2 separate regions of the Homo sapiens genome follow, and region 1 is linked to region 2. The links are contacts of gene promoters, found by promoter capture Hi-C in blood cells and fetal thymus (Javierre and others, 2016). All regions are on one chromosome and are shown on one strand. The core of a region is centred on a gene start or on the middle of the fragment in contact, and the rest is flanking DNA. Distances in the headings are between cores, read along the strand shown. Region 1 overlaps KIF19 (kinesin family member 19). Region 2 holds the start of RPL38 (ribosomal protein L38).

Region 1 (7,040 bases), core at 2,052-4,551, 150 kb after region 2:
TGCCAGAAAGAATGAGCAGTCTTTTGTCTTTGAACATCTGGGGTCGGATCCGAACAGGGCAGGTTCAAGAAACTTACCCCTCCCTTCCAGTAAAGCCTGGGGGGCTTCCTGGAAGGCACACAGGGGAGAGGCCTGGGAGGAGAGAGAGTGCCCTTCAGCCACTGGAGCGAGCTGGTCCCGGCTTCTCCAGGCTGGGCAGAGCCACCTCCTAAGGGGAGCTGCAGGCAGGGCCTCCTCGGCTTTGACATGCTCCTGCAGGCCCAAGAAAAGGAGAAGAACCTGCCCTCCACCACCATGCACATGTGCACGCACTTTCCTCCTTGCTCCCTGGAGCACCCTCTGGAGCACCAGTGGTCCTGCCGGCTCCCAGCTGAGCTGCCTGGAAAGCAACCTCCCTCCCATCTCATCCATGGCACTGTGTGTCAGGCCGTGCCACGGCACCTGCCCTGAGGAGAACCGGCCATCTCAGCCCTCCTCAGAAGCTGTCAGCCCATCACTCTTGTTCAGAGGCCTCTGGGTCTCTTAACCTTCTCCAATGCCCTCAGTGGCCTTGGCAGGAGGACGGCCACAAGGTCCTTGGGGGTTTATTACCCAGGATCACCAGGTCATTCATTGGTGGGGTGGCTGGGGAGAAACCCAGTCCCCTGCCTCATCAGGCCACACGTGTGCCCTTTGCTCGCCCCCTAGACACAGAATCGTGGGCAGCGTATGAAGGAGGGGGCCCACATCAACCGCTCACTGCTGGCACTGGGCAACTGCATCAACGCCCTGAGCGACAAGGGTAGCAACAAGTACATCAACTATCGCGACAGCAAGCTCACCCGGCTCCTGAAGGTACCAGCCACAGCTGGGCCTGGGCACTGGGCACCAAGGGTGAGGCTGCCAGATTAAACAAATGAAAATACAGGGCACCCAGCTAAATTCCAACCTCAGGATACACAGCAAAATTTATTTTAGCGTAAATATGTCCCATGAAATATTTGGGATATTCTTATGCTAAAACAAAGTAATTGCATATCTGAAATTCAAATTTAACTGGGTATCCTGTATTTTATCTGACGACCCTAACCAAAGGCTGGGCAATGGGAAGGAAAAGGAGCACGTGATACCCCCACCCAGGGCTGTGGGTCAGAGCCGTCTAGATTTGGGGGTGCAGGTGGGCAGTCAGCCTCATGGCCCCACAGGTCAGCTGTTTGGGGGTGGCCTCCTTTGTGCAGGGGTGTCCTTGGCCTTAAATTATAGCAGCATCACTGAGCGCCCACTCCTGGCTGGTCTCTTGAATTCAGTACTTCACTCTATTAGCTCCTTAGATCTCGTCAACAACTCTATGAGTTTGAGGGATTACATTTGCAGATGAGGAAACTGAGGCACAACTCAGTTAGGTAATGTTCCTAAGGGCTCACACTAGTAAGTGCTGAAAGTAGGATCCAGTCAGAGGCCTCCCTGATCTAATATCAGAGTCACCGCTTACTTAACATTGCCAGCAGCTGCCGTCATGACTGCACCTAGAAGCCGGGGAGGTGGGGACAATTGCAAAAGGACTGCCCCCTTAAAAAGCAAGGAAAGCCGGGTGTGGTGGCTCACGCCTGGAATCCCAGCACTTTGGGAGGCCGAGGCAGGTGGATCACTTAAGGTCAGGAGTTCAAGACAAGCCTGGCCACCATGGTGAAACCCCATCTCTACTAAAAATACAAAAATTGCCCAGGCATGGTGGCAGACGCCTATAGTCCCAGCTACTCGAGAGGCTGAGGCACGAGAATTGCTTGGACCTGGGAGGTGGAGGTTGCAGTGAGCTGAGACAGCGCCACTGCACTCCAGCCTGGATGACAGATCGAGACCCTGTCTCAAAAAAAAAAAAAAAAGAACTAAAGAGGTGAATGAGCTTTATTAAGGTTACACAGCTGGTAATTGCTGGAGCAGGGCTTTCTTCCTCCCAAGCCTCACACCATATGACGCTCAGCAGCCGGGTCCCTTAAGTGTAAAGAGACAGAGAGATTGCACTCGCCAGGGAGGGCATCGTGAACAGCCTGGCAGGAGGAAGGCCTGAGGAGGCAGTCCCCACTGACCACAGCCACCTCCCATCCAGGACTCTCTGGGAGGAAACAGCCGCACAGTGATGATCGCTCACATCAGTCCTGCGAGCAGTGCCTTCGAGGAGTCCCGGAACACCCTGACCTACGCCGGCCGGGCCAAGAACATTAAGACTAGGGTGAGGGCCCCTGGACCGTCCACCAGGACACACCTTCCTGGGCTGAGATTCAAGCCCCCGGGCTGATCCCTGCCACCCCACTGCACTCTCTGGAACCAGCCACTGCTGCACTGGCCTCATTCCCTAGTTGATCGTCACCTGTACACTTTCCCTGCACCTCCAAACCCTGCTCCTCTGCCGGGAAGCCGACAGCTCCCAAGGGTCCCCGCTTCCTCCAGTCCCAGGACTGTGCTCCCCCTGCCTCATCCCCTCTTCTCTTCCCTTCCTCGTCTTCAGATGCTCATTTAGACCTTTGCATTTCCAAAGCACCTCTTCATGATGGTCATCACAGGAGGCAAGCTTCATTGAGCACTTGCTCTGAGCTGTTTCACATGCTACCTCCTTTGATCCTCAAAAAACAGCAGTATTATTGCGGTTCCCATGTACAGATTAGGACAGCAAGGCTTAAGGAAGTTAAGTGACTTCCCAGCTGGCCAGTGATGGCGCTGAGGATGGAAATGAGATCTGCCCCGTTTCCAAGTCCGTGTCCTCACCTGTCTGTAAGCATGTCGGAACCCTTGCCATCCGCTTAGAAATCCATTTCCACCTGTTCGTGTGTGGAGGAGTGGGAATGGATTCATGTATGATAGCATGTAGGGAACATTCTCCCAACACCTAACACTTGCCAGCTGCTGCCCTGAGGGCTGTAAGTTTTATTCCAACCCCTCAATGGGGGACGGGAGACACATTCTTGAAACAGCTCATTGATGGTTCAGAATATTCCTAATAGCAGGTAAATGATGCCAATGGTAGGTGCTGGGGCAAGACAGGAACAGGAGGTGGGGGTGGCCTGGTGGGGTCCAGTGGAACTCTCTGGAGACTGTGAGTGGGACCCTGAAGGCTGGGAGGACATTCCAGAAAGGTGGGAGCAGGGAGAGCACAGGTTCCAAAGGCAGGAAGGGGATGGCGTCTGTGGTGGGTATGGGGAGAGCAGGACAGGTCTTCAACTGGAGTGGGATGTTCATGCAGGAGCGGTGAGCCCAGAGAAAATCAGAGAGATGGGGGTGGCCCTTCAACAACGGGTGGAGGAATGAGGACGTTCCCCGCAGGCATTAGGAAGCCACTGAAGGTTGATGAGATCTAGCAGTGAGTGTGACAGGAGGTTGTGGAAGTGGAGGAAAGGAGGCCATTACTGTCACCCAGAAAGACTGGGGGAGGCAGGGGGAAGAAAGGCCCTGCAGGCAGGCCTCGGTGAGTGCACCTGGGGTGACTGCATCCCCTCCGCTCCATACGTGTTCCCTGCAGGTGAAGCAGAACCTCCTGAACGTCTCCTACCACATCGCCCAGTACACCAGCATCATCGCTGACCTGCGGGGCGAGATCCAGCGACTCAAGCGCAAGATTGATGAGCAGACTGGGCGGGGCCAGGCCCGGGGCCGGCAGGATCGGGGTGACATCCGCCACATCCAAGGTGCGCCTGTGGGTCTGTGTGAGTGGCAGCCCCCTCCGGCCAGCCTCACGTTGCTCTGGGATCAGGCCATGTTGTGTTCAAATCCAGAATCGGGCTCTTTCTGGCTGGGTGGTTGAGCTAGGCACTCACCAGCTCTGAGCCTCCTAGCATTCAGCTGTTAAATGGGGTTGTGATCTCTGCTTCAGACAGTTACCAGAGATCACAAGCCGATTTCCCAACCCCACCTTGGAAGAGTAGGTGGGATCCCACGAGGGAGAGGCACGTGAGCAATGAGCTGCGCAGGGCGCACACTAAGGGCTGTGGCGTAGGGCTGCGAGGTCATGCCTGCACCCCCGGAATGGGCTCCGTTTCCTTGTAGACCTGCATATTTGCTATGATGGTTTTCCAACAGACAGTAAAGCTTTTTTTAAAAAAAAATTTACTAATATAAAGAGAGAGGCAGACAGTAAAGATTTTTTTTTTTTTTTGAGACAGAGTCTTGCTCTGTTGCCCAGGCTGGAGTGCAGTGGCATGATCTAGGCTTACTGCAACCTCTGCCTCCCGGGTTCAAGCGATTCTTCTGCCTCAGCCTCCCAAGTAGCTGGGATTACAGGTGCCCGCCACCACACCTGGCTAATTTTTGTATTTTTAGTAGAGACGAGGTTTCACCATGTTGGCCAGGCTGGTCTCGAACTCCCGACCTCAGGTGATCTGCCTGCCTAGGCCTCCCAAAGTGCTGGGATTACAGGTGTAAGCTACTGTGCCTGGCCACAGACGGTAGTTTCTAGGGGCACCTTTTTATAGTTGGCACAGAGGTGCTGTAAGGGTTAGCAGGAGCCCAGTTCATACCAAGGAGCTGGGAATTGCTTTTGGGCAACAGCTTGAAGACTCAATGTGGGAGTGGGGTCTGGGAGGATGTAGTAATCTAGGGGGTCTTCCTGGAGGAAGCAGTTGGACAGGAAGTGGGAGCACTGAGTTGGGAAGAAAAGGAGGGGAGGGGCCCAGGTGGGCCCAGGCTTTGCTAGCTGAACTTGCCGCCTCCTCTACCTTGCCCACCCTCACCCATCGGCAGCTGAGGTCCAGCTGCACAGCGGGCAGGGTGAGAAGGCTGGCATGGGACAGCTTCGGGAGCAGCTCGCCAGCGCCTTCCAGGAGCAGATGGATGTGCGGAGGCGCCTGCTGGAGCTGGAGAACCGCGCCATGGAGGTCCAGATTGACACCTCCCGACACCTGCTCACCATCGCCGGGTAAGCCCCCCTCCCAGGACCCTCCAGGCCCCACCCCTGTGCCTGGGACAGAGGAGCACGACCTGTGGCTGTACAGTGTGCCCTGCCCCCATGGCCTGAATGCCCTGTCTCTCTGGGTGGGGCTGCGGCAGCTGGAAGCATGAGAAGTCCCGCCGGGCCCTCAAATGGCGGGAGGAGCAGCGAAAGGAGTGCTACGCTAAGGACGACAGCGAGAAGGACTCAGACACAGGTGATGACCAACCAGACATCCTGGAGCCACCCGAGGTGGCCGCAGCCCGGGAGAGCATTGCAGCCCTGGTGGACGAGCAGAAGCAACTGCGCAAGCAGAAGGTGTCCAGGGTTTGGGGGGACAAGGAGAGTGGGTTTAGGGGACAGGGTGAGCAGGTTTGAGAGGCAAGGCGGAGGGGCCAGGGTGGGGGTAGCCGTGAGACTTGGGAACTCAGGCCACAAATCCTGTGTGACTTTGCTAAGCTCTTTAACTTCTCTATGCGTCACATTCCCCACCTGTAAAATGGGAGCAGTCCATGGTGCAGCCCTCATGGGGTTGCTGGGAAGATTACATAAATGCCTGGCACATACCAAGGACTCAAAAAATGGTAACTAATGTTATAATTAGGGTTTTTCAGGCTGGGCACAGTGACTCACACCTGTAATCTCAGCACGTTGGGAAGTTGAGGTAGGCAGATCACTTGAGGCCAGGAGTTCGAGACCAGCCTGGCCAACATGGCGAAATCCCGTCTTTACTAAAAATACAAAAAAAAAAAAAAAAAAGCCTAGTGTGGTGGCTCACGCCTGTAATCCCAGCTACTCGGATGGCAGAGGAATAAGAATCACTTGCAACCCTGCAGAGGTTGCAGGGAGCCGGGATAGCGCCACCGCACTCCAGCCTGGGTGACAGAGAGAGATCCTGTCTCAAAAAAGAAAAATAATAATAATAATTAGGGTTTTCCCAATAACAGATCTTTGCCTTCTGTTCTGGGACATACCCAGACCAAAGGGGCTTTAGGGTATCATGAGCCCTGAGGGGGTCACATGGGCTGGGGTTGAGCAGTTATCCCCCAAGCTGGTTCCAGGGGTGGTTTGCGGTCAGGATAGCAAGAAAGTGGACACTGAGGGGCCACCTTGGAGCAGTCCCTGATTGTAAGGCCCAAGATTCAGCTTTTAGGGTTGGCCTCAGGCTGGAGCTCCAGACAGATGCCTGGAGTCCAGGCGCTGGAGGGTCGAGGACGAGCTGGGCAGGCGGATCGGACCCCTCTCCCCGCTGCCAGATGCTGACCTGCGCCTCCTGCAGCTGGCGCTGGAGCAGCGCTGCCGGGAGCTGCGCGCGCGGGGCCGGCGCCTGGAGGAGACGCTGCCGCGGCGCATCGGCTCCGAGGAGCAGCGCGAGGTGCTCAGCCTGCTGTGCCGCGTGCACGAGCTCGAGGTGGAGAACACCGAGATGCAGTCGCACGCGCTGCTCCGCGACGGTGCGCTCCGCCACCGCCACGAGGCCGTGCGCCGCCTGGAGCAGCACCGCAGTCTCTGCGACGAGATTATCCAGGGCCAGCGGCAGATCATCGACGGTAGGGCCCACGCCCCCGCGCATCTGAGCCACCCGCGGGGGGGCCGCTGGCACTCACTGAGCCCTGCCCCTTCCCCAGCAGACTACAACCTGGCCGTCCCGCAGCGCCTGGAAGAGCTCTACGAAGTGTACCTGCGGGAGCTGGAGGAGGGCAGCCTGGAGCAGGCCACCATCATGGACCAAGTGGCCTCCAGGGCCCTGCAGGTGGGTGGGCGCCTGGGCGGCCTGAACATGGGCACATGTGCCCAGGGAGGGGCTGATGACCAAGGCAATGCCTTCAGGCAGCTGGAGGGGACAGGACCAGGCTGGCTGGCACCCCAGGGAGTTGACTCCCTTTCCTTCTTACCCCACCCAAAGCCTTGTCAAGCCTGAGTAAGACCCTCCTCCTTGGGCACTCCTGGGCATCACTTGCTCCCACCCAGGGTCTGAGGGTCAGGGCTGGCCATCTGAGATATCACAAATGGCTCCAGCTGCCCTCCCAGGAGACCAAGCATCAGGCAGTGCCACTGGGGAAGCCTAGCAGACCACAGCTTAACCCCGAGGACCCAAACACAAGCCCACTGCCCTTCTGGGGCTCCCAGGCCATCTTACAGC
Region 2 (7,202 bases), core at 3,918-6,417:
GTAACTAGAGCCGACTGCACCCCGCCTTGCCACCCGTTGAGCCCGGGCAGAGGCAGCACCCAGGGCTGTCCTCCTTACAGCATCCACAGAAAAGCTTTGAAACCCTAGGCTAGGTGCAAATAAGACAGTAGCCTGAGCCCATGAGTTACCTGGCCATAGGCACAGAACAGAGATATCCATTATGAAAAAGAATGTCCTCGTGGTTTTGGCCTTCTAGTCAAGCGGCTCTCAACCACAAGTGGCATTGCCCTGCTTTCCCCCGGGGACATTTGGCAATGTCTAGAGACATTTTCGTTTCTCACAATTGTGAGGGTCTAGCATTAACCAAGTAGGGGCCTGGGATCCTCACAAGGCTCAGAAGAGCCTCAGCCCCTAAACAAAAAGTGAAAGTGACCCCATCCACAAAGGTCAACCATGTGGGGCGTGAGAACCCCTGTTCCAGTCTGCCTGGCCTTTCTTCGTGGCTTCTAGCTCAGCAGCAGGGAGAATGTTAAACCTGTCTACCTCTCAGGGGCTCACAGACTCTTTGGGGGCCAGGGGGAGAGTGAGTAACCAGTATCCCTTTAAACTCACCATCTTCAGTTTCTAAAAAAACACCAGTGGGCCGGGTACAGTGGCGCAAGCCTGTAATCCCAGTACTTTGGGAGGCCAAGGCAGGAGGATCGTTTGAGGCCAGGAGTTAGAGTCCAGCCTGGGCAACACAGGGGACCCCATTTCTAAAAAAAAGAGGAAAGAAAGAAAGAGAGAGAGAGAGAAAGAAAGAAAGAAAGAAGGAAAGAAAGGAAGAAAGGAAGAAAGAAAGAATATAAGACCACATGCTTGTGGTCCCAGCTACTTGGGAGGCTGAGGCAGGAGGACCACTTGAGCCCGAGAGGTCGAGGCTGCAGCGAGCAGCGATTGCACCTCTGCACTCCAGCCTAGGCAAGAGAGCAAGGCTCTGTCTCAAAAAAATAAATAAATAAAGCACCAACTCACCCCGCCACCCGACTCCCCATCCTTTCCCAGGTAAATGAGTTCAGTGCCAGGGACCAGAGTCCCGGCCTGCTGACAACCTTTAAGGTTTAATAAACAACTCCCTTCCGAGATGGTTTAAAGGCCAGCCCTGCCGGCAGCCAAAGGCAGGGGCCTCTTGGAGATTAAATGAGATGGTGGATATGAAAGCACTCCACCAGGTATGAAATCGCATACAAATATTCCCGATAATTTATGGACATTTCTCTCCGCCTGAGCTCCCAGGAGTCGCGCGGAAGGGGCTATTCCGTTTCCAGCCGCGGCCTCAGCGCCCCCGTGCGGCCGCCAGTGGACACAGCACCCAGGGCGGGCCTTGCCTGAGAGGTGCGGGTTGGAGCTTTGCGAATCACCCCATAGAAGCTTCGCTGCAACCCTGCGAGGCGGGAGAGAGGCGACAGCACACACACTCCCACCCCCAAAACATACACACACGTGCACGCACACACACACAGAAACCAGGAAACTAAGGCTCGGAAGATCACCGCTGGGCAGTGAAGGAGGTGCTATGGACCCCAGGGATGGGCCCTTGGGTGACGATGACCACAGCGGGCATAAGTGAGGCTGGAAGGGGAACTCCTGAAGGCCCTGAACTCCAGCCCAACTCCCCCTCCAGCCTCTTCTCCCCGACCCCCTGCCCCAGACCCTCCTTACCTCTGCCACACTGAACTTCCCACTCATTCTCAGAAACACCCCGCATTCTCCTGACCCTGGGCTGACGTCAGCTCCCTCCCTCCTTCTGTCTGGAAGTCCTTCTCCGGGCAAGCTGCTGCGCACCCCTCTCGGAGGCAGCAGACTGTGTCCCCTCCTCCACGAAGCCTTCCAGGACTCCCTCAGGAGGAATTAGACCCCTAGCCTCTGGGCATCCTCCACAGCTTATTATGGGATCCCAACAGTCATGAGTGTTTGGAGCAGGAACCGCATTCTGCTTATTCCCAAGCCCAGCCCGATGTTCACCAAGTGAACGGAATGGATTGAATGGGGGAAAATCCTGGAGGTTGGGAAGTCTTCCCAGCCATGTGCCGTGCCAGCCCTCTGCCCACCTGCGAGCTGGGGCATTGGGGTTTTTTTGACCCATCCTGGTCCTCTTTCCAATGTGTCCCTGAAAACTGAAGAGAGAACTCTAAACCATTTGGCCTTCAGAGGTGGCCAGAGTGGGGCTGCTGGAGGGAGGAGGGGAGGCCCGGTGACTTCTGAGGCCCTCTCTGCCCAGAGCCAGCAGAGTGAGGGAAGGGAAGGAAGGAAAAGGGTTGGATTGTGTCCTGTAGCTCCGGACATGCCCTCTGAGCCTCTCCTGCCTCCAGCCATGCTGCAACACACTGCTTGAGACCCTCCCTACCGCCTCTTGACAACAGCAATAGCCCTCACCATCCCACAGCTGCCAGCACTGGACATTCCAGCCTACCAATGGCCAGAGCGACCATAACAGGCAGCCTGGGCCATCCTGCCCTCGAGTCCGGGGCTTTCCTCTCCTGCAGGATCCACCCTAGGCCCTGGAGAGTTTTGTTTCATGTGTATATGGGAGTCATCAGGGAGGCTCATGTCCAGGTCAGCATCTGCTCAAGGTCTCAGGCTGTGGCACTCAGGGCCTAGGCTCTGCCCCCCTTGGTCTCTGACAGTCCCCGGCCACTCCAGGACATTTGGGGCTCATCTTCCCATGGAGCAGGGAAGCGTGCCCTCTGGGCACCTTGCCTCACTTTTAGTAGCTGCAGCTTATTTTGCTATTTGTCCCCCTTGGGGAGCTGGAGGTCTTTGGTACTTGAACAAATTTGCCATTGTGTTTTGCTACTACACGTCTATGGTCCCTTAAATTATACAACTCAAGAGGGTGAACATCTGTCTCCCTGGGATCGCTGCCAAAAGGGAGGTGCAGCTCCTCCTTCTATCCCCGTCCTTGTCCTGTCGGGCCGGCAGTGAGGCAAGAAGCACCAGTCATTCATTCAACAAATAGTTTTTGGACCTACTACATGCCAGGCACTGCTTCAGGCACGTCAGTGTCTCCTTCTGGCTCTCCCTGAATTCCTCCCTCCATCCACCACCCCTTTATATGGTGAGTGATCTCAGATGCCGCATCCAGCCGGATCATCCTGCAATGTTAGCATTGAGCACTTACTGTACAGATGGGTACTGCACTTCGAGAGTTATCGACAGAATGCTGAGCCCTGTCCTTGCCTTCAAGGAAAAGTGGTAAGGTGGGGCGTAGTGGCTCACACCTGTTATCCTAGCACTTTGGGGGGCCGAGGCAGGAGGATCCCTTGAGCCCAGGAGTTCGAAACCAGCTTGGGCAACCTAGGGAGACCATGTCTCTAAAAAAGTTTTAAAAAATTAAAAATAAAAAGAGTGGTGCGCATGTATGAAAAGTTAAACACCTCCACGCAGCCTACGGAGAAGTGATTGCAAGGAACCACTGTATGAGCGGCAAGCAACATAAGTCAAGGGTGAAGGGTCCTGCCTGAAAAAGGGGAGGCGGGAGCTGAGCTCGGAAGGACCAGTGGCACTTGGCATCAGAGTGGACAGCAGAGCAAATACCTGGAGGGCAGAAAGTGCCCAAAAGTGCCCCTCGGCTTGGCTGAAAGGGTGGTTGCTTGTGGAGGAGCAGTGGGGTAGAAAAGACCAGAAAGGCATCGCCTGAGATGGGAAGGGCTGGCAAAGCCGGGCTCTGAGGTATGGGAAAATCCTTCTCAGGTCAGAGCTGAAGCACTCGTGCTTCTCAGATCGGATCCGACCTTCAGACATCTAAAATTAGGCTTCTGCCAATTAACTTTTCCCACTGCTAGAACCCCGACACATTTACAGTTGCAGAGACATCGTTCAGCTTCTTTAAAAGACTCTTCAGTGTTATTACAATATTTTTGTGATCTCTCTGCAGCAAGGTCTATTGGTTCCTGTATCTCCAGCACCCCCAGGAAGGTGCTCAGCCTGAGCTTGTTAATGGAAGGGCAGGAGGGAGGAAGAAAGGAAGGTTAAGTTAAATAAGTTCTAAGTAAAGCTCATGGCAAAGTGTTCTTTCCCTTCAGGAGGGCCGCTCTGTAATAATAAGCACGAAGCAATTACATTCTGCCGTGTGGTTATTAAATTTTGGGGAAACAAATATAATAAAATGTAGACATTTGTAGGGAGGTTGGAGATAAAATAAAAATGGAGGATAAAAATAAAATCGATAACCGCAGGTTGCTCAGAGTCTAACCTAAAGGATGTTAGGGGGAGAAAGGAACGCTGCCCTCCCCAGGCTTCCCAAGCCTCCCCAGGAAGTGGCCGGAGCCTGGGCTGGGGAATCTGCCCAGCAGGGGTTCAACTCCTGAGTCCACCTCTCCCCTCTGGGGCCGCGGTGAGACCCCGCAAGAGCAGGAGCACTCCCACTCACCATCAGCCCTAGGGGTGAGACACTTAGCCAGGGGCAGCGCTGCGACAGCTTTTGGAAGTATTATTATTATTATCATTATTGCTAGAGATGGGGGGGGGGAGGTCTTACTAGGTTGCCCAGGCTGCTCTCGAACTCCTGGCCTCAAGCGATCCGCCTGCCTCGGCCTCCCCCAGTGCTGGGGTTATAAGCGTGAGCCACCGCGCCCGGCCTTAACTTGCTTTCATTGTACACCAATTCCTAAGGGAATTGGAAGCAGCAAGCAGGAACGCTCCCTCTTATGGAAAGAAGAGCCCAGGGCCCTGGTCATGACAGGTTCAGGTGCCAAAAAGGAGACGGGAAGAAAACGTGAGGCGCCAGAACAACAGGTTCTACAAGGTGCACACGAGGGTCCCTGCCATTGAATGAAGAATTTTCTGTGTGGATGCCCCTGCGCAGGTCCAATGAAAGCCGTGGAGAATAAGCGTTAGCTCTTCAAACTGAATCTGAGCTAAAACCTAGCAAAGCCAGGCTGGGGTCTGAGGGGTTGCGGGGGAAGACAGGAAGGGGTGGACGGGGAAGAGGCGGGGGTCCTAGGAGGAAGGGATGGGGAGGAGCGAGAGGAGGGAGGCGGAGGGAGGGCGGCAGCCAGGATGGTCCATTCCATTCTTGGAGCTGCACTGTTGACTTCGACCACAAGGGGGCAGGGCTGCTGAAATTGGAAGTGCGAACGCCTACATGAGTCTTGATCCTCGGCAGGCACCGTACCCAGTTTCCTCCGTTGGGAGGGTTTAACTGCCCGGAAACGGAAGTCTCGTTCTTTTTCGTCCTTTTCCCCGGTTGCTGCTTGCTGTGAGTGTCTCTAGGGTGATACGTGGGTGAGAAAGGTAATCTGGGGCAATCCACTGCCAGGTGAAATCTGGGGACCCCAGGTCCGCGTGGAGGGTGTCGGGGAGGAGAAGGGGAGTGCGATGGGGCCGATATTTCGGGGGAGAGCGGGAAAACGGGGTTCGCTGCCAGCCCCCGCGCCGTGTTAACGCCGAGGACTGTTTCCCGCAGGTCCTGGTCCGCGCCAGAGCCCAGCGCGCCTCGTCGCCATGGTGAGTACAGTCCCTGCCTGGCGCCTTCCCGGGGTGGGCTCGTGGGGCCCCGGGGCGAGGGCGAGAGAGCCTCCCAAGGATCTCCTGAGGCCGGGAGAAGCTGGTGGACTGGGCCATCGCCGGGAGACGTGTCTCTTTCCTCTCTGTTCACCCGCTTCCTTTGTGTTGCAGCCTCGGAAAATTGAGGAAATCAAGGACTTCCTGCTCACAGCCCGACGAAAGGATGCCAAATGTAAGTGGTTGCTCCGAAGGTTCAAGAAGAGCGGTGCCTAGCCTGGCACCGCTCCGGGAGCGTCTTCCCCGGAATGTCAGGCAGGAGACGGTTAGGCCGTCTGGGTGTGTGCCTGGCCCTCTGGGAGCAGTGGTTTCATCCTGTTTCCCATGAGAAAGACCTGTGGGGGGCACGTTGAGGCCCTGGAATTTCTAGGACCATCTTTAGCTAATCGCGATCATCTCAGAGGCCGCCCTGAGTTCAGTTTTCTTTCGTATAATATAGTAAATTGTCGGAACGGAATCTCCACTCCGCGAAAGCCTCAAAACACACGTCCCATAAACACTGTTTAGGTTCTCTGCAGTTGTGCAAAATCTTAACACAAAATCCATTTTGTAATAAAGTGCTGGATATTTGCATGTAATGTATCGAGCACGGCACACTGTGTAGTATGGTCGTTTACCTCGTGATCCTGTGGTCGCTGGCCAGTGTCAGAAGGTATCATACCTATCTAATCCAGAAAAATATTTAAAAAAATTTTTTTTTTTCTTTGAGACAGTCTGGCTCTGTCGCCCAGGCTGGATTGCAGTGGTGCGATCTTGGCTCACTGCAATTACCGCCTCCCAGGTTCAAGCGATCCCCCTGCCTCAAAGTAGCTGGGCGCGCCACCATGCCTAGCTGATTTTTGTGTTTTTGGTAGAGACAGAGTTTCACCATGTTGGCCAGGCTGGTCTCGAACTCCTAACCTCAGATGATCCACCTGCCTCCGCCTCCCAGAGTGCTGGGATTACAGGTGTGAGCCACTGTGCCCCGCCAAGATCAAAATTTGAAGCAGGGCTTCTACTGAATGTATATCGCATTACCACCATTGTAAAGTCACAGAGTTTAAGTTGGACTGTCATAGGTCTGTTTCCCAGCTTGTACATACAGGGGAAAGAAGGTGATTAATGAAAAACCTTAAACAGCAGGTTTTCGATGGATAGGTGCCAATCTCTGCTGCCCACTTACTTAAATTTTTACACCAAGTGTGAGAGGTAGTTGTGTTACTCCTTTGTGATACTTGAAGGAGATTGGGGGGGCTTGTGTTTGATACAAGCTAGGTCTTGAGTTATGTTGTTACTTTAACCCAGTCATCTTTTTTCAGCTGACTGAGAATCAGGTCACATGTGGAAGTGAGGTTGCATGGGACAGGCCTGTTAAGGTGGGCTAAGACACCAGCCGTCTCTAATGCTCTGCCAGCCGTGGTGCCAGACGGTGGTTGGTGTACAGGGAGAGTCTTTCAATGAGTTGGGGGTAGGCAGAGATGGGGGTCATATTTGTGTCCCCATTACCCAAAACAGGCTGTCACCTTTGAGGTAGTGACCACCTGTGGGGACAAATAGCATCTGGTGGGAATGATGACTGTTGGCTAGTGTTTTGTGTAAAGAGATGAGGTTATCAGGTCAGTTTTATTTCAGACCATATGGGGTCACTGCCTAGTTTGAAGCCCAACTCTACCTGCAGGTAACTTACCCTTCTCAGCAAGTTAAACACGACACCACCG

The links. The method cuts DNA at HindIII sites, captures the fragments that hold promoters and counts their contacts. A CHiCAGO score of 5 or more calls a contact.
Region 1: a fragment that was not itself captured here is called in contact with the fragment with the promoter of RPL38 in region 2 in 4 of 17 cell types (total CD8 T cells, total CD4 T cells, naive CD4 T cells and 1 more); the score reaches 7.3 in total CD8 T cells.

The regions. Positions count from the first base shown.
Region 1 is chr17:74,345,691-74,352,730 of GRCh38, forward strand. It overlaps KIF19 (kinesin family member 19), which reads left to right. Exons shown (of 20, transcript NM_153209.4): 8 at 688-834; 9 at 2,087-2,209; 10 at 3,494-3,659; 11 at 4,711-4,885; 12 at 5,017-5,215; 13 at 6,177-6,447; 14 at 6,529-6,650. Among named protein-coding and RNA genes, the nearest start is that of BTBD17, 13 kb to the right of the region's middle. RefSeq lists an enhancer at 6,560-7,040. The HindIII fragment of the contact is 1,511 bases long and covers 2,547-4,057 here.
Region 2 is chr17:74,198,511-74,205,712 of GRCh38, forward strand. It overlaps RPL38 (ribosomal protein L38), which reads left to right and starts at 5,168. Exons shown (of 5, transcript NM_000999.4): 1 at 5,168-5,235; 2 at 5,408-5,448; 3 at 5,620-5,680. The coding sequence starts at 5,446. RefSeq lists a silencer at 1,400-1,449 and enhancers at 4,404-4,907, 5,916-6,420, 6,421-6,924. The HindIII fragment of the contact is 15,941 bases long and covers 1,370-7,202 here.